Linked DNA regions of Homo sapiens: regions 2, 3, 4, 5, 6 and 7 are each linked to region 1. Evidence: promoter capture Hi-C in 16 types of primary human blood cells and fetal thymus (Javierre and others, 2016). All regions are on one chromosome and are shown on one strand. Each heading gives the region's core, a stretch centred on a gene start or on the middle of the fragment in contact. The rest is flanking DNA. Distances are from core to core; before and after follow the strand shown.

The links. Contacts are between HindIII fragments. The CHiCAGO score rates a contact against its expected background, and 5 or more counts as called.
Region 2: a contact is called between a fragment that was not itself captured here and the fragment with the promoter of PTDSS1 in region 1, in 7 of 17 cell types (naive CD4 T cells, non-activated CD4 T cells, activated CD4 T cells and 4 more). The highest score is 10.5, in naive CD4 T cells.
Region 3: a fragment that was not itself captured here is called in contact with the fragment with the promoter of PTDSS1 in region 1 in 1 of 17 cell types (fetal thymus); the score reaches 5.5 in fetal thymus.
Region 4: a contact is called between a fragment that was not itself captured here and the fragment with the promoter of PTDSS1 in region 1, in 8 of 17 cell types (naive CD4 T cells, non-activated CD4 T cells, fetal thymus and 5 more). The highest score is 9.0, in naive CD4 T cells.
Region 5: a contact is called between a fragment that was not itself captured here and the fragment with the promoter of PTDSS1 in region 1, in 2 of 17 cell types (total B cells and total CD8 T cells). The highest score is 5.3, in total B cells.
Region 6: a fragment that was not itself captured here is called in contact with the fragment with the promoter of PTDSS1 in region 1 in 1 of 17 cell types (activated CD4 T cells); the score reaches 8.6 in activated CD4 T cells.
Region 7: a fragment that was not itself captured here is called in contact with the fragment with the promoter of PTDSS1 in region 1 in 1 of 17 cell types (total B cells); the score reaches 5.9 in total B cells.

The regions. Positions count from the first base shown.
Region 1 is chr8:96,259,871-96,263,740 of GRCh38, reverse strand. PTDSS1 (phosphatidylserine synthase 1) reads right to left here and starts at 1,839. Exons shown (of 13, transcript NM_014754.3): 1 at 1,522-1,839. The coding sequence starts at 1,700. It overlaps MTERF3 (mitochondrial transcription termination factor 3), which reads left to right and starts at 2,131. Exons shown (of 8, transcript NM_015942.5): 1 at 2,131-2,240. RefSeq lists enhancers at 914-1,153, 1,299-1,991, 2,474-2,533, 2,685-3,378 and silencers at 1,304-1,483, 1,534-1,903, 2,084-2,233, 1,986-2,310. The HindIII fragment of the contact is 8,922 bases long and covers 1-3,870 here.
Region 2 is chr8:98,119,628-98,123,497 of GRCh38, reverse strand. It overlaps POP1 (POP1 ribonuclease P/MRP subunit), which reads right to left. Exons shown (of 16, transcript NM_001145860.2): 2 at 19-162. The coding sequence starts at 160. Among named protein-coding and RNA genes, the nearest start is that of POP1, 4.3 kb to the right of the region's middle. The HindIII fragment of the contact is 5,033 bases long and covers 1-3,870 here.
Region 3 is chr8:98,051,139-98,055,008 of GRCh38, reverse strand. No RefSeq gene overlaps it. Among named protein-coding and RNA genes, the nearest start is that of RPL30, 7.5 kb to the right of the region's middle. The HindIII fragment of the contact is 951 bases long and covers 1,498-2,448 here.
Region 4 is chr8:98,030,885-98,034,754 of GRCh38, reverse strand. It overlaps MATN2 (matrilin 2), which reads right to left. Exons shown (of 19, transcript NM_002380.5): 16 at 2,438-2,509; 17 at 1,579-1,713; 18 at 1,096-1,194. Among named protein-coding and RNA genes, the nearest start is that of SNORA72, 9.4 kb to the left of the region's middle. RefSeq lists an enhancer at 1,015-2,214. The HindIII fragment of the contact is 1,114 bases long and covers 1,606-2,719 here.
Region 5 is chr8:94,548,240-94,552,109 of GRCh38, reverse strand. All of the region lies in intron 1 of VIRMA (vir like m6A methyltransferase associated), which reads left to right. Among named protein-coding and RNA genes, the nearest start is that of VIRMA, 3.3 kb to the left of the region's middle. The HindIII fragment of the contact is 4,218 bases long and covers 1-3,870 here.
Region 6 is chr8:97,779,393-97,783,262 of GRCh38, reverse strand. The region is part of intron 1 of LAPTM4B (lysosomal protein transmembrane 4 beta); the gene reads right to left. Among named protein-coding and RNA genes, the nearest start is that of LAPTM4B, 5.5 kb to the right of the region's middle. RefSeq lists an enhancer at 243-751. The HindIII fragment of the contact is 6,902 bases long and covers 1-3,870 here.
Region 7 is chr8:97,714,386-97,718,255 of GRCh38, reverse strand. All of the region lies in intron 9 of MTDH (metadherin), which reads right to left. Among named protein-coding and RNA genes, the nearest start is that of LAPTM4B, 59 kb to the left of the region's middle. The HindIII fragment of the contact is 2,124 bases long and covers 605-2,728 here.

The sequences.
Region 1 (3,870 bases), core at 590-3,089:
TACATTTAGTATCCGTTAACTGCTCCCCCTCCCAAATACTAGAAGTTCTCTCAATCCTTGTGACTACCCAATATATATATCCCTACACATGTTCTGCTGACCCTGACAGAGAACCTTGATTGTTGGATAAAAATACTGGGAGAGAAGTAACTGACATGAATTGTACATTGTGCTCCAGGGACTCTGCTAAATGCATTCACACACATTCATTTAATTTTCATAACCCTATATAAGTAGATATTTCATCCCCATTTTACGAGTGTGGCCCCTGAGGCTCAGAGCAAGGTTATGCAACTTAATTAAGGACACACAGCCAGTTTTGAAACCAAAAGTGTGGCTCAAAAACTACTCTACTCTAAGTTGGCCTTTTAAGCCATAATGGTGAGAGAGGTGTGACTTCCCTTTCTTTAAAGAGGTTCATTCAGAAAGTATAAATCATTCTAAGTAGGAACCACGGTGTGTACCTCCTTATGAACCAAGGATGAATTAGTTCTCTAGGTTAGGAATGAGGAGCCACAGGCGCAGTGCCAGAGTTAACATGAGGTGTGTTCAAGATTTGGGCTGGGCAGCTCCTATGAACCGGTATATATTAGAATGTGTGTGTATGTTTTCCAGGGAATAAGAGAGTTGTGTTATGCTGTGTGAGGTTTATGTGTTTCATTTAACACACAGCAGTTACTATACCCCAGGCACCATTAAAATTGCTGGACAAGATCACATTTCAGCACGTATGTTAGGTAATGAGTGAGCAGGGTATGCACCGCGTGATGTGTGGCGGGCTGGTGTCTGTGCAGCCATGTACACAGATGATGGGTATTGGGCTGTGCTGGAAAGGAAAGGTCCGCTGTGAGGTGTGTGTTTAGAGTGGCAGTTTGTGCCGTGGTACAGATGGTAGTGTTTGAGGCTGGGGGAAGTGTTATGCTGGATGACTTGTGTGCAATGCATACGGGAAGTGCTGCACAGGAAAGACCGTGTATGCAGCACACATGTGCATTTTTTGTGCGTTACGGATAGTGCCGAATACCGGAGTTCCACAGGAAGGGATCTAGGTTGTGTCCTGGGCCTGTGTATGGTGCCTGCAGGCGCTGTGGATTGGGGTGCTTTGTATGTGTAGCGGTGTGTGCTGAAAGTGGTGCATACGACATGATTCATGCGGTGTGCTGGGTAGGGACGAAGGCTGGAGCAGTGCAGAGGAGGGGCCCGCGTCGTGATGTTGTGTGGAGCGATGCTGAGTGCGGTGGGTGAGGGGGCGATCGTGCTAGGTGACTCGCGTGCGTTCCCCGTGTAACCGGAGGCGCTGTATGGAGAAGGGGCACTGAGGGGTAGGGGAGCAGGCTAGCGTACTGTGAGACACCGGGCGGGCGGAGGGGCCGCGTGGGCGGCGGGCTGCCAGTGCGTGTGCGTGGAGCAGCCAGCCCACTTCCTCACCCAGAGCCATGCCGGGCCCCCCTCCCCGCCACCCTCCCTCCCGCCTCTTCCCTAGCCCTTGGACGCGCCCCCCGCTCGGCTGGGCCGCCCCACCTGGTAAAGGCGAAGTACATGAGGCTGACGATGGTGAAGCTGAGCAGGGTGATGGTATGCGGCCGGTAGAAGAAGTCAATGGTGATGTCCTCCACTTGCTGCTCGTTGATCATCCGGAAATGCATTTTGTAGTTCACATCATCCTTGCTTAGGGTCCGGCTCCCCACGCAGGACGCCATGGCCCGCCTCCCCGTCCTGCCGCGGTGGCGGCGGCCCCAGCCCGAGAAGGCCGGGACCCCGGGGGTGACTAGCCACAGTAGGCTAATAGCCGGACGGCAAAGCCGGGTCTGGCGCCCAGCAAAGGCTGGGAGCAGAGGGAAGGACAGGCGCGAGAGGGCGGGGTCGCGGCGCCGCCACCGCGGCCTGGGGCAGGGGACGCCGCCGGCCGTCCCCACGCTGTCATCCTAGCTGAGGCATCTCTACCACTCGAGGAATTTTCAGACTCCAAGTCCACAGGACTTCAGAGGAATAGCGAGCCGGAGAAGGGTAGCCGGGGCCCCTGGCTGGCTCTTTTCAGAGCACGTAGCCCGCTGTCTCCCCGCGTAACCCGGCACATGGTCTCGCCCACTCCGGGCGCGGCCCACGTGGGCCCGGGAGCGCGGCTGCGCTGTGTAGGGCGGGCTGAGGAGCCGGCGTGCGGCGCGGCGGGACGGGACGTGCGGCCCAGCGAGTTGGTCGGTCCCGGGGTCACCCGCTACGGGAAGCAGGCCTCGCCACAGGTAAAGCAGGAGCTGCCCCAGCACGAGGATCGCGCTCCTGGCGAGGGTTCAGGTTCCGGCGCACCCGCGTCCAGACCGCGCCCCAGGGCCTCAAGGGCCTTTAGGTTTTCGCGGCCCAGTAGAGGGTGATTGGTTTTGTTTTGTGTTTTTCCCTGGCTGATGTAGTGAAAACTCAACCATGCTGGCTAATTAGCGCAGTGTGAGAAGCCTCAGGAGGGGGCTCTGCCTTCCTGCGCAAGTTTGGGGAACTGAAGTGGGCTAAAATGGCCTGGGAAGTATTGAGAGACCCTTTATTAGGAAGCTGCCCCCATAACCTCCCTTTCTCTCCTGATTTCATTTATAGCATTTCGTAGGTAGAAATCTTGAACTCTATTTCAGTGCCTTTTTCTAGCGAAGCACTAGGCACTCATTGAGAACAGTATATATGAATTGTTAAGAGACTTCAGTTTCTTTAAGGGTTTTCTGTAATTTTCCTGATGAAAGGACCTTGTTAGAAGACTTCAGGTTACCACCTTACAGGGCTTTTATACACATCTGCACATCCCCTACCCGCTTTTGCATACTGTGTAAGCAAGTGAGTTAACTGTACTTGCCATTGATTTATTTCCATTCCGCAAACATTAGAGCAGTACAAGGCTCTGGGAAAGTGGAGAATAGTCCCCGGAAGGATGGATCCAGGGATGAGACCCAGCTCTGCTCTCGTGCATGAACAGTTAATCAATTGTTAAGATGTGTAGGCAGCAATGAAAGGATGTGGAGAAGATAGTGCACTTGTAAATAAAAATGCAAGGATAAACATTAGTTGTATGCACAAAGATCTTTTAATGACGGGGTGAAATTTGAAAGTGAGTCTTCCTGATGTTTAAGTGGTATTGAGTGTGGAAAGGCTTCAGGATGAATTTGGGATTTCAGGAGTTTGAAGTAGGATGAAGTGCTTAGACGTCAAAAAATGTTAGAGCTGATAGGGGCCTTAAGAATCATCTTATTGTACCCCTAGCCTTTTAAAAAAGCATTATTTGAAGAATAGTTATTGACCCCACCCCCACCCCCCACATCATGGGCTAGACTGCTGCTTTTGTTAGACTGCTGCCAGAAACAGCCTTGTCAAGGTAGCACAACCGAGGTCTTCTGACTTTCAATTTAGTGCCCTTATGACTACCGTGCAGAGAATGAATGTTGTAGGTTTGAGGGAAAACTTGGCACATTTGGAGTCCCATTTCCCACCAAAATCTAACAGAAACCACCTATCCCAGCAGGGTATTGTGAATACTTACTTCTTTTCTAAAATCATCGCAGAATGGGCCGAGCGCAGTGGCTCACGCCTGTAATCCCAGCACTTTGGGAAGCTGGGTGGATCACCTGAGGTAAGGAGTTCGAGGCCAGCCTGGCCAAGATGGTGAAACCCCGTCTCTACTAAAAACACAAAAAATTAGCCGGGCATAGTAGCGGGCGTGGGTAATCCCAGCTACTCGGGAGGCTGAGGCAGGAGAATCACTTGAACCTGGGAGGCAGAGGTTGCAGTGAGCCAAGATGGTGCCGTTGTACTCCAGCCTGGGCAACAAGGGCGAAACTCCGTCTCAAAAAAAATAATAATAATAATAATAATAAATAATTGCAGAATGAAAGGAAA
Region 2 (3,870 bases), core at 815-3,314, 1.9 Mb before region 1:
CTCTTATGTGTATTTTACCTTGTTTTTGAGCTTGGAAAGGTTTTTCACCTCCACTGTGGTGCTTTACACCTCTGTCAGCCACAAAGCCAGAGGACAGAGTCACATTGGTAGGCTGGTTTCTCATTTTCTTGGCGTGTTTTCTTTCTTTTGCATTTGACATTTCTGGAAAGGAAGTAATACATTTAATACAGGGAAAGGAAACTTCCACTCAAAAATAAAAATAAATTTAATGAGTAAATATTCATGTGATTCAAAATAAGTCTATTGATGGAAGAGACCCTATTAGTATATTGCAGTTTGCACTGTCAAATAATTAAATCATATACAACTGTTGATACCACATAAAGTCTGTTAGAAGAATGAAAAATGAGATAAGATTGCTATGGATGATAAAAAATTAATTAGTTCAAATACTTTACCTTGATTATTAGATGAAATAAGAGCCACCTGAATCAATGAAATACAGAACACCCTATTCCAAAAGGAGAAACTCTATTAAAAACAACACAAATTACTGACGCTTTCATTTCTACTACTCAGATGATGCCAGCTATATATTTAATTTATAATAGCAATAGATAATGATTTCAATTTGAAGCAAGATAAAGGACAAAAACAGTGGGACCCCGACTGATTTACCAGTCAGTAGTTCCCAACTCTCAAACTCAACATCCCCTATTTTTACTGATTCAGTTTGAAGCAGCTGTTCTCTATTTTTAAATGAAATGAATGTTATAACCTATTAGACACATATCGAGACATACCCTACAATAGATGCCCTAAATGTAACATAAAGGAGACCTAAGAAGTAATTTTAATAAAATAATATGTATTTCTGTATGTAACTATTTCACCACAACTACACTAGATGATATTATGAATAGATTTTGAACCCAGGGAATAATAACATCCACACAGGCACCAGCACAGGCATTGGCACAATCCATAAAGCTGGATGGTCCTGGAAGCCCTTCAACCCCAAGGTACCAGTGATTAACTCTTTCATTGCTAACTGCAGGAAATCCGAAGGGCCCTATACATGGACACACTAGGAGGTAGGGAAGCTCAGAGCAGCTGGTATTTACCAAGCTGTTCTCAAAGCAGTTCAGTATTTTAATACCAGTCTTTACTTCTACCTATACATAAAATTACCATGAATTCAACAGCTACAAAGGCAAAGCAGCACAGGTGTGTTGTACCAGTGCCTCAAAGAGAAGGTAGCAATGCCACTAATGACGTAATTTTCCAAATTGGTCAACACTCCTTAGTAAACTACCCCCACCCCCGCCACCCTGCCAAAAAAAGTACAAACTTGCTTTGATTTACTGCATTACTGGAAAATTCAGTGCATATTAAAACGGTGTAACCAGGCCAGGTGCGGTGGCTCATGCCTATAATCACAGCAGTTAGGGAGGCTGAGGCAGGCGAATCACTTGAGGTCAGGAGTCCGAGACCAACCTGGCCACCATGGCGAAACCCCATCTCTACTAGAAATACAAAAATTAGTTGGGTGGGCCGGGCGTGGTGGCTCACGCCTGTAATTCCAGCGCTTTGGGAGGCTGAGGCGGGCGGATCATGAGGTCAGGAGATCGAGACCATCTTGGCTAACACAGTGAAACCCCGTCTCTACTAAAAAAATACAAAAAAATTAGCCAGGCATGGTGGCGGGCGCCTGTAGTCGCAGCTACTCAGGAGGCTGAGGCAGGAGAATGGTGTGAACCCAGAAGGTGGAGCTTACAGTGAGCCCAGATCGTGCCACTGCACTCCAGCCTGGGCAACAGAGCAAGACTCCATCTCAAAAAAAAAAAAAAAATTAGTTGGGTGCAGTGGCGCGCACCTGTAGTCCCAGCTATTCGGGAGGCTGCGACAGGAGAATCGCTTGAACCCAGGAGGTGGAGGTTGCATTGAGCCGAGATGATCACACCACTGCACTCCAAGTTGGGCAATAGAGCAAGTCTCCATCTCAAAAAAAAAAAAAAAAAAAACCCGTGTAACCAATAATTTTATATAAATTAGGTACTGGGCTACTGTGGGGCTTTTCTGCACATAGCAGGCTGTCTAATATCCCTGGTCCCTGCCCAATAAATGCCAGCAATGTTAGCCCAATTATGCCAACCAAAACACCTACACAAACTTCCAAAATGCCAGCCACATCAGAATTTGCCCACTTCCACTGAGAGCCACTAAATTACCCCCCATTCACTTACTTCCTTTTCCAATGCAAGACCTCACACAAAATTAAGACTTGCCTATATGGTATAGTGTTTAAGGGCTTTCACTATGGAGTTTGAAAGATGTGGGTTCAAATTCCTTCTTTACACTTTTTAGTTACATAATCTTAGGAAAATTACTTTCTCACTTTCAGCCTCAGCCTCTTCCTCTACAAGTTGCTGTGAGAATTAAACATTATATACAGGCCAGGTGGGATGGCTTATGCCTGTAATCCCAGCACTATGGGAGGCCAAGGCGAGTGGATCACTTGAGGCCAGGAGTTCAAGACCAGCCTGGCAAACATGGTGAAATCCCATCTCTACTAAAAAATACAAAAATGAGGCCGGGAGCGGTGGTTCACGCCTGTAATCCCAGCACTTTGGAAGGCCGAGGCAGAAGGATCACAAGGTCAGGAGATCAAGACCATCCTGGCTAACACAGTGAAACCCCGTCTCTACTAAAAATACAAAAAATTAGCCGGGCGTGTTGGCGGGCGCCTGTAGTCCCAGCTACTCGGGAGGCTGAGGCAGGAGAATGGCGTGAACCCGGTAGGCGGAGCTTCCAGTGAGCCGAGATCGCGCCACTGCACTCCAGCCTGGGCGACGGAGCAAGACTCCGTCTCAAGAAAAAAAAAAAAAAATACAAAAATGAGCCACGTGTGATGGCATGCGCTTGTAATCCCAGCTGCTCGGGAGGCTGAGGCACGAGAATCCTTTGAACCCAGGAGGCGGAGATTGTGGTGAGCCGAGATCACGCCACTGCACTCCAGCCTGGGCGATAGAGTGAGACTCTGTCTCAAAATAAAAAAATGAACAAACATATACATACTGTACATGGTTTTGGCTTTGCAAAATGCATATACACAACTCACTTAGCATGGGGCTTTATGCTAACTAAATGCTCAGTTTATGGTAGCTATTATTCTTAAATAATAAATGAAATAGCAGGGATTGATGCCATTTCACTGTCTCACTCCACTAATTTCAACTAAATGAAAGACAGCTATATCTACATGCAAAAACATTTTTCAAATTAAACAGTATGAAGGAAGTAAATGGAGTTCTGCAGAACTGGCTGGCTAGTGAAGCACATGATTCAGATCGGTCTGCATTAAAAGCCATTCCAAATATTTTACAAAACAACTTAGTTAACCTACTGTTACCTGCTTGAATCAGAACTCACCAGCAAGGCTAGACAAGAACACCATAGAAACTCTAGCTCCCCTCAGTATTAGAATGGTCCAAGAAAAGGTTGGTGCTGGAGGATTAGGATAACCTTGGGAACATCCCTGAGCTTTGGGTCCAGACTAAAATATGAGGAAATCAAACTGGCAGTGGTCCTCTAACAGCAGAAGGGAATGAATATAGGATGCATCTTTATGAAGTCTGAGGATTTAATTTAAAAGTTTCCAGAGGCCTGGTGTGGTGGTTCACATCTATAATCCCAGCACTTTGGGAGGCCAAGGCGGGAGGATTGCTTGAGCTCAGGAGAAACCAACCTGAGCAACATAGTGAGAACTCATCCCTACAAAGAAATCAAAAAATAAGCTAGGCATAGTTATGAGCTTGTGGTCCCACCTACTCGGGAGGCTGAAGTGGGAAGATCGCTTGAGACAGGGAGGTCAAGGCTGCAGTGAGTGAGCCTTGATCACATTACTGC
Region 3 (3,870 bases), core at 724-3,223, 1.8 Mb before region 1:
TGGAGTGCAGCAGCATGATCTCACCTCACTGCAACCTCCGCCTCCCGGGTTTGAGCAATTCTCCTGCCTCAGACTCCCAAGTAGCTGGGATTACAGGCGTGCACCACCACGCCCGGCTAATTTTTGTGTTTTTGGTAGAGACTGGGTTTCACCATGCTGGCCAAGCTGGTCTTGAATTCTTGACCTTAGGTGATCCACCAACCTCAGCCTCCCAAAGTGCTGGGATTACAGGTGTGAGCCACCGCACCTGGCTGCAGAGATTTTAAAAATTGCTCAAAGTCATGCAGGTATGAAAGAGAAATGTTAACCAGGCACAGTGGGTCACACTTGTAATCCCAGAACTGCGGGAGGCTGAGGCAGGAGGACTGCTTCAGGAAGAGTTCGAAACCAGCCTGGGCAACAAAATGAGAACTCCATCTTTAAAAACAAAAAAAAAGAGAGAGAGACAGAAAGAGAAACCAAGGCCCCAAGTCTGTCTCCAAAGAGAGGTAGAATGGATTCAGTTAAGATTCCCTAGGAGGCATTCCCATTTTGTGGTCATGATTCAGACACAAAATGAGTGCTTTGGGCTTCACTGGTTTCCAGTACAAAATCATGGTAAGATCCTTGGGAGAAAGCAACTAAGTCCTTTCTTTAAAGTATAGTGAGGACACATAGTATCTTAGTCTTTTCCTGCTGCTTTAACAGAACACTTGAGACTGGTTAATTTATAAACAGAAATTTATTGGCTCACAGTTCTGGAGGCTGGGAAGCTCAATATCCAGGTGCCAGCAGGTTTGGTGATTCTTATTCTAAGATGGTGCCTGGAATGCGGCATCCTCTGCAGGTATGAATACTTCATCTTCACAAGGCAGAAGGGCAAAAGAGACTATGAACCTTCTCATGGCCCTTTTTATGGCATTAATCCATTCATCGGGGCTCTGCCCTCATGACTTAATTATCTCTTAAAGGCTCCACCTGCTAACACTCGCATTGGGGGATTAGGTTTCAACCTATAAATTTTGGAAGGAACACAAATATTCAAACCATAGCACATAATTGGGATGGGATACTTGGTATCATATAAAGAAAAGTGCCTCAGAAAAGTTACCTCATGCACTTTAATCATTTATTCTCTAAAACAGGGACAGCAACTATCCTGATTACTTTGGAGGAAAGTGAATATTTAAAAGCTTTGCGGCCAGTCACAGTGGCTCACACCTGTAATCCCAGCACTTTGGGAGGCCAAGGCAGGCAGATCACTTGAAGTCAGAAGTTCGACAGCAGCCTAACCAACATGGTGAAACCCCAACTCCGCCAAAAAATACAAAAATTAGCCGGGCATGGTGTCGAGTGCTTGTAGTCTCAGCTACTAGGGAGGCTGAGGTGGGAGAATCGCTTGAACCCGGGAGGCGGAGGCTGCAGTGAGTGAAGATCACTGCCACTGTACTCCAGCCTGGGTGACAGAGCAAGGCCCTGTCTCAAAAAAGAAAAAAAAAAAAAAAAAAAAAAAAAGCTTTGTGCTCCTTTCTCTCCTCTCCTTCTATCTCCTCCCCTAAATTAATAAATAAAAACTTTGGCACAGCAGCTCACATCTATAACCCTAGTACTTTGGGAGGTTTAAGCAGGAGGTTCAATTGGGGCCAGGAGTTCAAGACCAGCCTGGGCAACATGGTGAGCTCTCATCTCTAGAAATAATTTAAAAGTTAACTGGGCATGGTGGCATGTACCTGTGGTCCCAGCTACTCTGGAGACTGATGCAGGAGAATTGCTTGAGCCTAGGAGGTCGGGGTTGCTGTGACTGTGCCACTGCACTCCAGCCTGGATGACAGTGAGATTTGGTCTCAAAAAATAAATAAAACAAATGCTTTGAGGCAAGTTCTTGTAATCCCAGCAGTTTGGGAGGCCAAGATGGGAAGATCGCTTGAGCCTAGGAGTTCAAGACCAGCTTGGGCAATATAGTGAAACCTGTCTCTATAATAAATAAATATATATGAGAGATTAATATATATATAAGCTAGGCATGACAGCACACATCTGTAGTCCCAGCTACTCAGAAGCTGAGGTGGGAAGATCCCTTGAGCCAGGGAGGTTGTTGCAGTGAACCTTGACTGTGCCACTGTACTCCAGCCTGGGTGACAGAGCAAGACCCTGTCTCAAAAAAAAAAAAAAAAAAAAAAAAAAATAGAAAGAAAGGAAAAAAAAAAAAGCACTTTGGGAGGCTGAGACGGGTGGATCACGCGGTCAGGAGTTCAAGACCAGCCTGGCCAACATGGCAAAAAATTGTCTCTATTAAAAATACAAAAAATTAGCTGGGCGTGGTGGCGGGTGCCTGTAATCCCAGCTACTTGGGAGGCTGAGGCAAGAGAATTGCTTGAACCCGGGAGGTGGAGGTTGCAGTGAGCCAAGATTGCACCATTGTACTCCAGCCTGGGTGACAGAGCAAGACTGTCTCAAAAAAAAAAAGCTTTGAAGGTAGAACACCCCTCCCCCTCCCCCTCCCCCTCCCCTTCTCCCGCTTTCCATGGTCTCCCTCTGATGCCGAGCGGAGGCTGGTCTCTACTGCCGCCATCTCGGCTCACTGCAACCTCCCAGCCTGATTCTCCTGCCTCAGTCTGCGGAGTGCCTGGGATTGCAGGCGTGCGCCTCCACACCTGACTGGTTTTTGTATTTGTTGGTGGAGACGGGGTTTCGCCGTGTTGGCTGGGCTGGTCTCCAGCTCCTGACCGCAAGTGATCTGCCCGCCTCGGCCTCCCGAGGTGCCAGGATTGCAGACGGAGTCTCGCTCACTCAGTGCTCAATGTTGCCCAGGCTGGAGTGCAGTGGTGTGATCTCGGCTCGCTACAACCTCCACCTCCCAGCCGCCTGCCTTGGCCTCCCAAAGTGCCGAGATTGTAGCCTCTGCCCGGCCGCCACCCCGTCTAGGAAGTGAGGAGCATCTCTGCCTGGCCGCCCATCGTCTGGGATGTGGGGAGCGCCTCTGCCCTGCCGCCCCGTCTGGGATGTGAGGAGCGCCTCTGCCCAGCCGCGACCCCATCTGGGAACTGAGGAGCGTCTCTGCCCGGCCGCCACCCCGTCTGGGAGGTGAGGAGCGTCTCTGCCCGGCCGCCCCGTCTGAGAAGTGAGGAGCTCCTCTGCCCGGCAGCCGCCCCGTCTGGGAAGTGAGGAGCCCCTCCGCCCGGCAGCAGCCCCGTCTGGGAAGTGAGGAGCCCCTCCGCCCGGCAGCTGCCCCATCTGGGAGGTGGGGGGCAGCCCCCGCCCGGCCAGCCGCCCCGTCTGGGAGGTGGGGGGCGCCTCCGCCCAGCCGCCGCCCAGTCTGGGAGGTGGGGGGGCGCCTCTGCCCGGCCGCCCCGTCAGGGAAGTGAGGAGCCCCTCTGCCCAGCCGCCACCCTGTCTGGGAGGTGTACCCAACAGCTCATTGAGAACGGGCCATGGTGACGATGGCGGTTTTGTCGAATAGAAAACGGGGAAATGTGGGGAAAAGAAAGAGAGATCAGATTGTTACTGTGTCTGTGTAGAAAGAAGTAGACATAAGAGACTCCATTTTGTTCTGTACTAAGAAAAATTCTTCTGCCTTGGGATGCTGTTAATCTATAACCTTACCCCCAACCCCGTGCTCTCTGAAACATATGCTGTGTTCACTCGGGGTTAAATGGATTAAGGGCGGTGCAAGATGTGCTTTGTTAAACAGATGCTTGAAGGCAGCATACTCGTTAAGAGTCGTCGCCACTCCCTAATCTCAAGTACCCAGGGACACAAACACCGCGGAAGGCGGCAGGGTCCTCTGCCTAGGAAAACCAGAGACCTTTGTTCACATGTTTATCTGCTGACCTTCCCTCCACTGTTGTCCTATGACCCTGCCAAGTCCCCCTCTCCGAGAAACACCCAAGA
Region 4 (3,870 bases), core at 913-3,412, 1.8 Mb before region 1:
AGTTTTCACCATGATGCTACATAAGGCCACGGTTTTGAGGAATTCTGACCTATGTAAAAATATGTCTTCTTTAGTCTCTTGTGAGTAGAACTTTGGGGTGGGACAGGCAAGCGAGAAGAAAAGGGCATTAGAATAGGTATTGGTCTTCCCTGTAAGCTCCTCAGTACCCTCTATCTGCCCTCTTGAGGGCAGAATGAGAGCCCATATTCGTCAATTAACCACTCAGAAAGATTATTTCATTTTACTTAAGGGAGCGTATTTCCAGCTTTCAGAAATGGAATTGCCCTATGCTGTTGTTCCTTATTACATAAGCCCATTGGCACAGAGATAGTTCAGAATTAAGCCATTTCCCTATAGACTAGTTGATGCACTTGAGATATCAGCCAGCTTTAGTACGCTTACTGTAATTTTAAGTTTAGAGCACTTGGCAGGGTGTTCAATATGTAAAAGCACCGAATCCTCTTTTCTTTATTATCCCCAAGCATTCCTTTTATTTAATATTGTTTAAATGAATCATTGGATCCTGCTGTTCCCTTGGTGGAGTGTTTCATTTTTTAGAGTGCCGATAGAGAAGATCTCTGCTGCCAAGGGAAAAAAAAGAAAAAACCACTCCTGTCCTCCAGAAACTAAACACACTGAATCTATATGTGGCTGTGGTGTTCCTTGGGGCTAAAGGAAAAGTTTGGAGTACTGAGTTTGAAACCTCTTCATTCTACAACATTCTTTGTCTATACTTACCGTACCTTTGATGCACTTCAGACCTCATCATGTCCTACACACCTTCCTAGCAGAGACGGAGTTAGGCCAGTGTCTCTTTTTTCCTTACTTTGTATGCTGACTGACAGGCCTTATTGCTAAGCCCCCGAGAACAGCCGATGGCAACTAAGTGCTTGACTGCTGCTAATAAGCTTGGCTTGCCCTTGCCTCTCAAACACCTGTGAGGCTGCTTTTTAAAGCAAAAAGCCTTTCCTGGAGATCACTGTTCTTTGTGACTTCGTGGGATTTACTTCAGTTGATAAAACCTACATAGAGTGTGTGAAGTTTTGATAATATTCTTTGCATTCCATACAGAAGCATAATGCAAGAAAAGGATATAGCGCTGTGTTAATTTTCTTACTTCTTCGTTTGCAAGGTTCTGGAACATTATAAGGTTTTCACATTTGCATTGATCGTGTTTTTCTTCCAAAGGGCTTCCTGAGAAAGCAGATGGAAAGTGTTCACCTCTAGAATCCACCAGACTTCCCAGACGCATAATAATAGGAATGAATCAGCATATGGAGGAAACCATAATGAAAGACATGTTCCACTTTTTCCATGCAGCCAGATCCAGTAAATACCAGGAAAGCACTGTATATGCTTCCAACACTGGAAGTGGCCCTTACTGTGGATTACTGAGGAACACTACTTGAGTTTCTTTTAGTTTATGTTTTAGTTCTCATTTTACTTAAATTCTTTCTTCTCTTTTCCTCTATACTATTTCCTACTTCCTTCTTTCCTTTCCTCCTTAAAGCTAAGGTTGTTGGCAAGCCGAAAGGCTGAGATCAAGTTATCTTATAGTAATATTTTACTTGGAATTACCTGAAGGTTTTGTTGAATGGGAAAGCTTTTGTGTAGACCGTAAAAGATTGTCTTCTTCAAACAGATATCTGTGTTGCACTGCAAAATTAGAACAGGAAAGTAGGTCTTGGATATTTATGGTGACTGGCTCAGATTCTGTAAAGAGAAAGAAAACTGCAATCAAACCTGCTTAACGCTTTTGGTTATAAAACAGCCATCAGCAGAGTAAGGTACTTGGTATTCCTAGCACTTGGTACAGAGCTTTACTTTGGGACATACTGAAGCAAAAAGACTGTTATCTTCAGTGGAGTAAACATCTTTATTAAAAAAACAAAAAACAACAACAACAAAAAACAAAACAAAAACAGCCGGGCACAGTGGCTCATGTCTGTAATCCCAGCACTTTGGGAGGCCAAGGTGGGTGGATCGCTTGAGGTCAGGAGTTCAAGACCAGCCTGGCCAACATGGTAAAACCCCGTCTCTACTAAAAATACAAAAATTAGCTGGGCATGGTGGTGGGTGCCTGTAATTCCAGCTACTCGGGAGGCTGGGGCAGGAGAATCACTTGAGCCCAGGAGGTGGAGGTTGCAGTGAGCTGAAATCGTACCACTGCACTCCAGCCTGGGCAACAGAATGAAACTGTCTCAAAAAAACAACAACAACAAAAACAAAAACAAAAAAACACTGTCACCTGAAACGATGCTAGTTACCAAATATGGCTTAATGTAAGAGTAAATGTTAACTATCTTTTTGAGGGAAAAAAGGCCTTCATTATCATAATTTGAACATACTTACATTCACTTCTTTACAGCTTTTATCTGGAGGGAAACCATGGTTCCCTCCACCAAAATTTCTAAAAACACTGCCTTAAAAACTGTACCTGTTGGCTGTTGGACCGTTTTTGGCAGTTCCCCTGCTGGAGAGTCCTGTCTTCCATCGGAGTCTTCTAGAGCTGAGCAGAAAAAGATGACCAAAAGAAGTGATGGTTGTCCACAGGCATGTGTGTGTTCTTCAGGAAGCTGGTCCCAGACCACCTCCTTACCTACCTGCCATAACCTAAGGTTTTTTAGTTTTGTTTGGTAACACCAAAGATTCAAAAAAGCAGTTGGTTACCATGATACTTATGACCACTCTAGGGCAATTCTCTCTCGTAAGAGAAGCTTGGACCCCCTAAGTACATCTTAAGAATGCTCCCAAAAATGTCATGTCTAGAAAGTAGGGCAGAAAAAAAAGGTGAAGTTGTTGAGGGATTTTAGTTGCAGTGGCAGCAGCTCCACTTGAGGCATTTTAACTTGCATGAAACAATCAAGAGGCAAAACATTCTCTACTCAGAAATCTGAAAGGCCTTCCCTCCCTGTTACCCCTCATCTCAAGAGTTCTTTCCCTAGAGGGGTAAGACACAGCACTTAGACTGGGATCTAACTGGTGAGCCGGGGACATGAGTACAAGGAAAAATAGGCAGAACTGCTATCTGTAAGCATATCTGGCACAGTTAGTAAACTGGAGAAAAGCATGCATAACAAAATCTGAAGTCTAAAGGGCAGTCTGATATTCTGTAAACAAGTAGTCCATGCAGAAAGGCATTAATTTTAACAGTGGGCTTGGAAGAACTAGGTACGCCCCTTTCCACTCCAATTATAGGTATATTCTGAAATTGCACTTCAGCTCTCCTGATTTATATAATGATTGATTTTTAGTTAAATGATCATTTCTCTAGGGTGTTTGTGAGGATGAAGCATGCTGGTGTGTCAAAACACTTATTATACTGCTTGGCACAGAGCAAGGGCGCAAACAATGGTAGCTATTACTTTTTTCTTTCCCACCTCCCCTGTTTCCCCCACCTTTTTTTTTTCTTTTTTTGAGACAGGGTCTTGCTTTGTCACCCAGGTTGGAGTGCAGTGGCGCAATCATGGCTCACTGAAGCCGTGACCTCCAGGGCTCAAACGATCCTCCCCGCTCAGTCTCCCAAGTAGCTGAGACTACAGGTGTGTGCCATCATGCCTAGCTAATTGTTAAATTTTTTTTCAGAGACAGGGTTTCACTTTGTTGCCTAAACTGGTCTTGAACTCCTGGGCTCGAGCAATCCTCCCACCGCAGCCTCCCAAAATGGTTGGGTTACAGGTGGGAACCATGGTGCCCAGCCCTTCTTTTTGTACTGTTTCTAGGCATTGCTGGCCCTGCCCATGAAGGAGACACTTTTTTTTGGTTGAGAATTTATCACTAAAGGTTCATGCTGGCCGGACACGGTGGCTCACGCCTGTAATCCCAGCACTTTGGGAGGCTGTGGTGGCTGGATCACTTGAGGTCAGGAGT
Region 5 (3,870 bases), core at 512-3,011, 1.7 Mb after region 1:
CCGAGATTTAGAAAACCCTCAATGGAGGCAGTAGTTGGATCAGAACAAACTTATGGTGTATAGAAATAGAGAACAGTTAAAACTGAAAGAGCCTGGCGCAGTGGCTCATGCCTGTAATCTCAACGTTTTGGGAGGCGGAAGCAGAAGGATTGCTTGAGTCCAGGAGTTTGAGACCATCCTAGGCAACACAGTGCAACCCCTGTCTCTACAAAAGAAAATTAACTAGTTGTGGTGGTTTGATCTTGTTGCCCCAGCTACTCGGGAGGCTGAAGTGGAAGGATCATTTGATCCTGGGAGTTCAAGGCTGCAGTGAGCTAAGATCACACCACTGTGCTCCAGCCTGAGCAACAGAGTGAGACCCTGTCTCGAAAGGAAGAAAGAGAAAAAGGAAAAAGAGAAAGAGGCATGTGATGAATTAGTTTAGTACTATTCTAGTTTAGGAAAATTGGCCTTCATTAGTTTATCATGTATTTCTATTCTTTTATTCATTCTTAGGTAAACATTGAATACCTTGAGAGCATAGGGCAGATGGTAAATGCTTTCTTCTGGGGTGATTGGGGAAGGCTTAGCAGAGATCACATTTAAATCAAGTCTTGAAGGAGGAAGTAGGGGTTTGTGGGTGATACGAAATATTGAAATGTTTGTTTTCAAGAAGTTATAACTCAGTATTGGAGATTAGATTCACAAAATTGTGATTTGAGTTAGAATGTGATGATCACATAAAGAAGCACAGTGTGAATTCGTTGGGGTTTATCATCTTAGTTTACAAAATGCCCATCAGTATCTGACGTATTAGAACTAGCTCCCTTTGTGGGTATAAATAAAAGATACAAGATTTCAGAAGAGGCAGAGATAACTTTTCATTTGAGTGTATCAGGAAAGACTTCATCAAGGTGTTTGGCTTATGAACTTGGTCTTTGGTGAAAGGGGCAATATTTCACAGTTGTAGTTAGGAAAGGAGGGCATTCTACTGGGGTAGTCAGTCGTCTGTTAGGGTATGCTTGAAGTAGCAGTGTGAAGTGGCACCCAAGGCAATTCAAAGACAGATCATGGAGCTCCTTGAATGCTCGACAAAGAATTACAGACTTTAGGCCAGGCGCAGTGGCTCACGCCTGTAATCCCGGCACTTTGGTGAGGCTGAGGTGGGTGGATTGCCTGACGTCAGGAGTTCGACACCAGCCTGGGTAACACAGTGAAACCCCGTCTCTACTAAAATACAAAAAATTAGCTGGGCGTGGCGGTGTGCGTCTATAGTCCCAGCTACTCGGAAGGCTGAGGCAGGAGAATTGCTAGCACCCGGGAGGAGGAGGTTGCTGTGAGCCAAGATCACGCCACTGCACTCCAGCCTGTGCGACAGAGCAAGACTCTGTCTTTTAAAATAAATAAATACATAAATAAATAAAAATTATGGACTTTATTTTGTAGGAAATGGGTAGTTTTTGAGCAGGCGAATCATACAATTAGTAAGATACATTAGATAGATTACTTGATCAATAATACTTAAAATGGTTCAGAGAAGGCCAGGCGCCGTGGCTCATGCCTGTAATCCCAGCACTTTGGGAGGCCGAGGCAAGCGGATCACGAGGTCAGGAGATCGAGACCATCCTGGCTAACATGGTGAAACCCTGTCTCTACTAAAAATACAAACAAATAGCCGAGCGTGGTGGCAGGTGCCTGTAGTCCCAGCTACTCAGGAGGCTGAGGCCGGAGAATGGCGTGAACCCGGGAGGCAGAGCTTGCAGTGAGCCGAGATTGTGCCACTGCACTCCAGCCTGGGTGACAGAGCGAGACTCCGTCTCAAAAAGAAAAAAAAAAAAAATGGTTCAGAGAAAATAGAGGTGAGGTGACAAAATCAGAGAGAAAAAGTGAGATGTTATGAAAACCTGAGTTAGCCAATGGGCAGTAAGCATTGTTTAACATTTATTGAATGCTTAATTTGTGCCAGACACAGTGGGCTTTGATAACTTAAGTAAATCATCTCTGGTCCTTCCATCAGTTTTTTTTTTTTTTTTTAAGACTAGGTCTTGCTCTGTCACCCAAGCTGGAGTGCACTGGTGCGATCACAGCTCACTGCAATTTCTCCCACCAGGGCTCAATCGATCCTTCCATCTCAGCCTCCCGAGTAGCTGGGACTACAGTTGTGCACCAACACGCCTGGCTGATTTTCATATTTTTTTGTAGAGACGGTGTTTTGCCATGTTTCCCAGGCTGGTCTTGAATTCCTGAGCTCAAGCGATTCTCCCACCTCAGCCTCCCAAAGTGCGAAGATTACAGGCGTGAGCCACTGCAGGGCCCACGCTGAGTTTTCAAAGGTAGTCATCTACATTTTATAGATAAGGAAACTGAGCCTGAGAGATGAGGTGACTTTCCTAAAATAGCATAGCTAGATTAAGATCCACCATCATACATTTTTCTGGCTCTAAGGCAGTGCTATGCTGTGTCCCAGTGGAACTACGTAGGAGAGGATTTATACAAGTTTTGGATATGTACAAATTTCGAGTATAGAATTGACAGGATGGCAACTGATTATGTGAAGGAGATAGGGTAGTTAAAAATGGTAAAATTCTAGTTTTAGAGACAGGAGAACTAGTGGGACTAATGATGGTAAGAGTGTGGAAGTGAGTTTGATGGGAACGGGATAATTAGCCAGATTAATTTGCCCCATAGGAAGTTGAGAATCTGTTTAACAATTATTTATGAAAAACACTTTTGAAGGTGAGGGTATGGCTTTAGGAGGGGCAATACAAGTCAGAACAAAGCCCATTGCCCTTGATTTCAAAGGAATTTGTAATATGGTAGAGAAGAGACATTTATTAGTTTCACACAGGGAATCTTTATTGCCAGCTGCCATTAACAGCTCTTTTTTTGGTATTGTATTTGTTTTACCAATAATTTCCTCTTCTCCACATAAACAATTGATACACATTTATAAGGCCAATCCACTGAGTTCAGAAGATAAGCAGTTAAACTTATTAAAAGACAATTTGATTGTGAGGGAATAGTGTTCCCGTGAATGAAAAAACACTTAACATTACAAATCAAGAATGCAAGATAAGCCAGGTGTGGTGGCATGTGTGCCTGTAGCCCCAGCCTGGGAGGCTGAAGTGGGAGGATCACTTGAGCCCAGGAGTTGGGAGGACAGCCTGGGCAACATAGCAAACGCGGTGGCTCATGCCTGTAATACCAGCACTTTGGGAGGCTGAGGCAGGGGGATCACGAGGTCAGGAGATTGAGACCATCCTGGCTAACCTGGTGAAACCCTGTCTCTACTAAAAATACAAAAAAAATTAGCCAGGCGTGATGGTATGCGCCTGTAGTCCCAGCTACTCAGGAGGCTGAGGTAGGAGAATGGCGTGAACCTGGGAGGTGGGACTTGCAGTGAGGCTAGATCGTGCCACTGCACTCCAGCCTGGGCGACAGAGCGAGACTCTGTCTCAAAATAAATAAATAAATAATAAAAAAATATAAAAAAGCACACTATATCTCTAATGTTAACATATACAATATTAGAAAAAGTTGTTTAAGTTAAAATCAGATTTAAGCAAGGTTATTTGGTAAACAAGTATATGAGTGGAAAGCTATTGTATTTGTATATTCCTGTTGATGAGTGAATTAATTTCCTTTCTGTATCTCTCCCTATTGTAATCAGCTTTTACTTTGTATTTTACACTGTAATTAACAGCTGTCTTTATATTAATATTTTTCCAAATCCTCTAGTGAATATTATGCTTAAATGTATACACCCGTTGCCCACGTTAATATTACAATACTGTAATACTGTTTTGTGGTTTCGTTTTTCACCTAACAATGTGTTGTACATCTTTGTGAATCAAGAAGTAATACACCTATATAATATTTCAAAAGTAAGCT
Region 6 (3,870 bases), core at 386-2,885, 1.5 Mb before region 1:
ATTAAAAAGAAAGACCAGGTCATAAAGCCAATGAAGCAGCTACTCTGACCTCTTTTATCCTTTATAATCTGATATATGGCTAACTACCCTGTGAACAGTGTCTGGCACAGAGGCATTTGGTATGTATTTGCTGTGTCTAAGTTCCTAAAAAATAACTGAACAAGGATATTTAAAAAAAAAAAAAAAAAAAGGCCGGGCGCGGTGGCTCACACTTGTAATCCCAACACTTTGGGAGGCCAAGGCGGGCAGATCACCTGAGGTCGGGAGTTTGAGACCAGCTTGACTAACATGGAGAAACCCCGTCTCTACTAAAAAATAAATAAATAAATAAATAAATAAATAAATAAATAAATAAAATACAAAATTAGCCAGGTATGGTGGTGCATGCCTGCAATCCCAGCTACTTTGGAGGCTGAAGCAGGAGAATCACTTGAACCCAAGAGGCGGAGGCTGCAGTGAGCCGAGACTGCACCACTGCACTCCAGCCTGGGCAACAAGAGCGAGACTCCGTCTCAGAAAAAAAAAAAGGCTGGGGACGGTGGCTCACGCCCGTAATCCCAGCACTTTGGGAGGCCGAAGCAGGTGGATCAGGAGGTCAGGAGTTCGAGACAAGCCTGACCAACATGGTGAAACCCCGTCTCTACCAAAAATAAAAAATTAGCCAGGGATGGTGGCGCATGCCTGTAGTACCAGCTACTCAGGAGACTGAGGCAGGAGAATCGCTTGAACCCGGGAGGCAGACGTTGCAGTGAGCTGAGACTGCGCCACTGCACTCCAGCCTGGACAACAGAGTGAGGCTCTGTCTCAAAAACAAAAGCCTGGAGTGGTGTGGAGTGGTGGTGTGAGCCTGTAGTCCCAGCTACTTGGGAGGCTGAAATGGCAAGGCTGCTTGAGCCAGGGAAGACAAGGCTGCATTGAGCCACTCCAGCCTGGGCAATAGAGTGAGATCTTGTCACAAAAAAAAAAAAAAAAAAAAAAAAAAAGCTGGGCATGGTGGCTCAGGCCTGTAATCCCAGCACTTTGGGAGGCTGAGGGGAGCAGATCACCAGAGGTCGGGAGTTCGAGACCAGCCTGACCAACATGGAGAAATCCTGTTATCTACTAAAAATACAAAATTAAACAGGTGTGGTGGCGCATGCCTGTAATCCCAGCTACTAGGGAGGCTGAGGCAGGAGAATTGCTTGAACCTGGGAGTCGGAGGTTGCGGTGAGCCGAGATCGCACCATTGCACTCCAGCCTGGGCAACAAGAGCTAAACTCTGTCTCAAAAAAAAAAAAAAAAGTCCCCAAAGTCTTGTGCAAGAATGTTCAGTGCAGCTTTATTTATAATAGCCCCAAATTGGAAATAACCCAAATGTCCAATATCTGGCAAATGGATAAACAAATTGTGGTATATTAATACAATAAAAACAATACTCAGCAATAAAAAGCAACACTCCAAGAAGATGAATGAATCTAAAAGAAGTTATGCTAAGTGAAAGAAGCTAGATACAGAAGGGTACACACAGCATAATTCCATTTTACATGAATAAGCAAAACTTACCTACAGTGATTGGGGATATGGCAGGGATTAACTGGGAAACAGCACAAGGGAACTTGCTGAAAGTTTGGAAATGTTCTCAAGGAATGTGGGTTACATTACAGAGGCATTTGTCAACTCAATAAACTACATTTAACTGTGAATTTTGCCGGGCACGGTGGCTCACGCCTGTAATCCCAGCACTGTGGGAGGCCGAGGCGGGCGGATCACCTGAGGTCAGGAGTTCAAGACCAGCCTGGCCAACATAATGAAACCCTGTCTCTACTAGGAAAACAAAAATTAGCCAAGCGCAGTGGTGGGTGCCTGTAATACCAGCTACTTGGGAGGCTGAGGCAGGAATCACTTGAACCCAGGAGGCGAAGGTTGCAGTGAGCTGAGATTGCACCACTGCACTTCGGCCTGAGCAATAAGAGCAAAACTCCTCAAAAAAAAAAAAAAAAAAAAAGGCCGGGCACAGTGGCTCACGCCTGTAATCTCAGCACTTTGGGAGGCCAAGGCGGATGGATCACAAGGTCAGGAGTTCAAGACCAGCCTGAACAACATGGGGAAACCCCATCTCTACTAAAAATACAAAAATTAGCCCGGAGCTCACCTGTAATCCCAGCTACTCAGGAGGCTGAGCAGGAGAATCGCTTGAACCCAGGAGGCGGAGGTTGTGGTGAGCCGAGATCACGCCACTGCACTCCAGCCTGGGCGTCAGAGCGAGACTCGGTCTCAAAAAAAAAAAATTGTAGTACATAAATCACAACTCAATAAAAGAAAAAAAAAGAGACAAACAAAAAATGATCTCTAGAATAAATACCTGAAGTCTCCCAAAGTTAGCGTGGCCCAGAATTTTAAAAATAGTAATAATAATAATAAATACCTGAAGTCAATATACTTTACTTCAGGACTGAAGGAAAACTTTTATTATTCCAAGACAAAACCAAAACACATGCACAACTTTTAAAAGTAAAACAGTGGAAACAGAACAGATTAAAACATCACTCAGATCATAAACCAACCATGGGATTTTAAGCTCTCAAGTAAATCACCAAAGTTCTCTAAGCCTCAGTTTTCTCATCTGTAAAATGGGAATAAGAAAATCTACCTCACCAGGAATATGTAAAAATTAACCTTATGCAAAGTATCTAGTAAAGTACATGACACTTGGAGCCTTAGTAAACGGTATTGGTAGGAATCAACAATAAGAAAACATATAAAAAAGATCCACTTTACCTATCTTGCAAAACAGGAAATTACTTAAATGAGCCCTTATTGTGGACTCTTACTTTTTGTTTTATTTATTTATTTATTTTGAGACAGAGTTTCGCTTTTGTTGCCCAAGCTGGAGTGCAATCGCACGATCTCAGCTCACTGCAACCTCCGCCTCCTGGGTTCAAATGATTCTTCTCTCAGCTTCCCAAGTAGCTGGGGTTACAGGCACGTGCCACCACGCCCCACTAATTTTTTATATTTTTAATAGAAACAGGGTTTCATCATGTTAGCCAGGCTGGTCTCAAAACTCCTGACCTCAGGTGATCCACCCGCCTCAGTCTCCGAAAGTGCTGGGATTACAGGTATGAGCCACCGTACCCGGCCTGGACTCTTATTTAAATATCTGCCTTGTCTGAAAACTCTCCGCTTTATTATTATTATTCTTTATTTTACTTTTCTTTTTTTTTTTTTTTTTTGAGACAGAGTCTCACTCTGTTGCCCAAGCTGGAGTGCAGTGGCGTGATCTCGGCTCACGGCAACCTCTGCCACCTGGGTTCAAGGGATTCTCCTGCCTCTGCCTCCCCAGCAGCTGAGATTACAGGTGCCTGCCACTGCGCCCGACTAATTTTGTAGTTTTAGTAGAGATGAGGTTTCACCACCTTGGCCAGACTGGTTTTGAACTCCTGACCTCAAGATCCACTCACCTCGGCCTCCCAAAGTGCTGGGATTATAGGCGTGAGCCACCCACACCCAACTTTTTTTTTTTTTTTTTTAGATAAGAGTCTTGCTGTCACCCAGGCTGGACTTTCCACCTCCAGAGTTCAAGCAATTCTCATGCCTCAGCCTCCTGAGTAGCTGGGATTACAGGCGCATGCCACCACGACCGAATAATTTTTGTATTTTTATTAGAGACGGGATCTTGCCATGTTGCCCAGGCTGGTCTAGAACTCCTGACCTCAAGTGATCCGCCTACCTCGGCCGCCCAAAGTGCTTACAGGCGTGAGCCTCTGCACCAGGCCTCTTTCTCTTTTTTTTTCTTTTTTTGAGACAGAGTCTCACTGTCACCCAGGCTAGAGTGCAGTGGCACAATCTTGGCTCACTGCAACCTATGCCTCCCAGGTTCAAGCAATTCTC
Region 7 (3,870 bases), core at 417-2,916, 1.5 Mb before region 1:
GCCTGGCCAACATGGTGAAACGCTGTCTGTAATAAAAATACAAAAATTAGCTGGGTGTGGTGGCGCACGCCTGTAATCCCAGCTATTTGGGAGGCTGAGGCATGACAATTACTTGAACCTGGAAGGCGGAGGTTGCAGATCTCGCCACTGCACTCCAGCCTGGGCAACATGGTGAAACCCTATCTCTACTAAAAATACAAAAATTAGGCCGGGTGCTGTGGCTCATGCCTGTAATCCCAGCACTTTGGGAGGCTGAGGTGGGTGGATCACTTGAGGTCAGGAGTTCAAGACCAGTCTGGCCAACATGGTGAAACCCTGTTTCTACTAAAAATACAAAAATTATCTGGTAATGGTGGTACACATCTGTAATCCCAGCTACTTGGGAGGCTGATACATGATAGTTGCTTGAACCTGGGAGATGAAGGTTGCAGTGAGCCAAGATCGTGCCACTGCACTCCAGCCTGGGTGACAGAGTGAGACCTTGTCTCAAAAACAAACAAACAAACAAACAATCTCAGGGACAAGTCACTTAGTTTCCCTAAGCCTGTTTCCTCAACTGTAAAGTAAAATTTGCCCTAATAATTTCTAAAAACTCACATAAGCTTTAAGATTTCCATTTTTGGGGGGGGGGGGATAAAAATTTATTATACATAAAGAATATCACCACTAACAAACGCAGACAGGCTAGGACACCATGGTACAGGGTGGAGGATGGCTAGCTCTTTGGAAAGTGAAAGGTTTGGGTGGCGTGGGCCTCATGCCACTCTGATTAGTCAGGAGACAGGAGGGCACATGCCAAACACCACAGGACATCAGGGCAGCAAGATTTCCATTCTTAGACTTTCAAACTTTTATGAAGTTTCAGCAAAATAATTCTAGAGCACATTATATGCTTAGTAAATTATATGTAAAGTAAACATGAACTAGAATATATTAAATAGAAGGATTACTGTATTTTTCTTTGGCAAATGCATCCATATAAAATGGCCGTTCTTTTTAACAAATGGCTAAGATGATCTTAATGTTCTTCTGACACTGATGTTCTATTTTATGATAGTTATTCAGTATAGTAGTGGGTTTAGATAGTCAAAATTTTCTATATATTTAGGCTGAGCAGGTAGCTTTGGAAGTATGTGGGTGAAGTCTGTAATCTTACAAAGTTTTTCAAAGTTTTGCAATCTTACAAAGTCAGAAGACATCAATTTATTTCCATCCCAAGTTGAACTCAACAGTGAAAGACCCCATCAGCCACACACGAACACCAAAAAGGACTTTGGGTTTGGTGCGGTAGCTTGCATCTGTAATCCCAGCACTTTGGGAGCCAAGGCAGGAGGACTGTTTGAGCCCAGGAGTTTGGGATAGCCTGGGTAACATAGGGAAACTCTGTCTCTACAAAAAAATAAAAAAACTGTAGTCCTAGTTACTTGGGAGGCTGAAGCAGGAGGATCCCTTCAGCCCAGGAGGTTGAGGCTGCAGTGAGCTGTGATGGAGCCACTGCATTCCAGCCTGACCACAGAGTGGAATGTCTCAAAAAACAAACAAACAAAACAAAACAAAAAGAGAAAAAACAATATAATTTTTTTTTTTGAGACAGTCTCACTCTGTTGTCCAGGCTGGAGTGTAGTGGCACAATCTTGGCTCACTGCAACCTGCGATTCTCCTGCCTCAACTTCACAAGTAGCTGGGACTACAGGCGCCAGCTACCACGTGCGGCTAATTTTTGTATTTTCAGTAGAGACGGGGTTTCACCATGTTGGCCAGGATGGTCTCAAACTCCTGACCTTGTGATCCACCCGCCTCGGCCTCACAGGTGCTGGGATTACAGGCATGAGCCACCGCACCCGGCCTAACTTTTTTTTTCTTTCTTTTAAGATGGAGTTTCACTCTTGTTGCCCAGGCTGGAGTGCAATGGCATGATCTTGGCTCACCGCAACCTCCGCCTCCCGGGTTCAAGTGATTCTCCTACCTCAGCCTCCCGAGTAGCTGGGATTACAGGTGCATGCAACCATGCCCGGTTAATGCTGTATTTTTAGTAGAGACAGGGTTTCTCCATGTTGGTCAGGTTGGTCTCGAACTCCCGACCTCAGGTGATCCACCCGCCGTGGCCTCCCAAAGTGCTGGGATTATAGGCGTGAGCCACCGCGCCCAGCCATAACCTTTTATTAATAGGATATATGTGCTATGTACTCAGCATAGAACTTCATGGATATCAAATTCTCAAAACAACCTATGCAATTATGTAACTTGTGCAAGGTAAAAAAAAAAAATGACAGAACAAGATTCAGAATATAGATCTGACTCTAAACCTAGAATACTTATTCATTATATTTTTAAAAACACAGTGAACATTTTTAAAAGGATAATCAGAATGCCAAAGAAACAGTCACATGTTAATGACCTTTGCCAATACGTTAAACATTTCAGAATACATCTATCCTACAAAATTTATTTTAAAAGGAGCTCCACTAATCCACAATCCACTAAATCATTATTAGTAAATACTCAAAGTCAAAGAAATTCAAGAAAAACTTGGCTAAAATGGTTTTCAGGTAGTATTACTAACAAAGGATAGATGTAACATTTCTCATCTACCAGCTCCAGCTAACAAGAAAAGCATACCTATTATAGAGTGTTAGTTTGTTCATATCCACTGATCTTAGCTATGTTACAACCTTAATGCCCATTCATTTTGACTACTGAAAAAGCAAGCAAGTATTGATAATAAGCTTGTATCATTTATGAGGGTTTGTGCTTCCCACAATAAAAAATAACTGAATACATATTTCCTTAAAAAGCCATGTAGAAACTTCTTTCAAAAACAGTAAGTGGCTGGGCGTGGTGGCTCACACCTGTAATCCCAGCACTTTGGGAGGCTGAGGCAGGAAGATCACTCGAGGCCAGATCACTTGAGACCAGCCTGGCCAACATGGTGAAATCCCCTCTCTACTAAAAATGCAAAAATTAGCTGGGTGTGGTGGCTCATGCCTGTAATCCCAGCTACTTGGAAGGCTCAGGCAGGAGAATCACTTGAACCTGGGAGAGGCAGGTTACAGTGAGGTGAGACTATGCCACTGCACTCCAGCCGGGGTGACAGAGTGAGACTCTGTCTCAAAAATAAATAAATAAATAAGGCTGGGCGTGGTGGTTCACGCCTGTAATCCCAGCACTTTGGGAGGCTGAGTTGGGCCGCTCACTTGAGACCACATCACTTGAGACCAGCCTGGCTAACATGGCGAAAGCCTGTCTCTACTAAAATACAAAAATTAGCCAGGCGTGGTGGCACATGCCTGTAATCCTAGCTACTTGGGAAGCTGAGGCAGGAGAATCGCTTGAACCTGGGAGGCAGAGGCTGCAATGAGCTGAGATCGCACTACTGCACTCCAGCCTGGGCAACAGAACAAGACTCTGTCTCAAATAAAAAAAAAAAAGATAAACAAATAGAACAATAAGTAGGAAAAATTACTATGTGGGCTAACCCTAGAAATTGCGGTTCCCTGTCTCCTACATTTAAACAATTAATTACATAGTTATAGTAAGGAATACAAATATTTTAAGAAGTTGTAATGTAACAGTATTAGTGCTTTAAAAAAACCTATGCATGTTTCTAATAATCTGATACATCTGAAATTAAAATATCTTTTTTTTTTTTTTGAGACAGGTTCTTACTCTGTGACCCAGGCTGGAGTACAGTAGTGTGATTTTTGGCTCACTGCAAGTTCTGCCTCCCGGGCTCAAGTGATCCTCTCACCTCAGCTTCCCCAGTAGCTGGGGCTACAAGCGTATGCCACCGTGCCTAGCTAATTTTTGTAGAGACAGGGTTTTGCCATGTTGCCCAGGCTGGTCTCAAGCTCCTGGACTGAAGTGATCCTC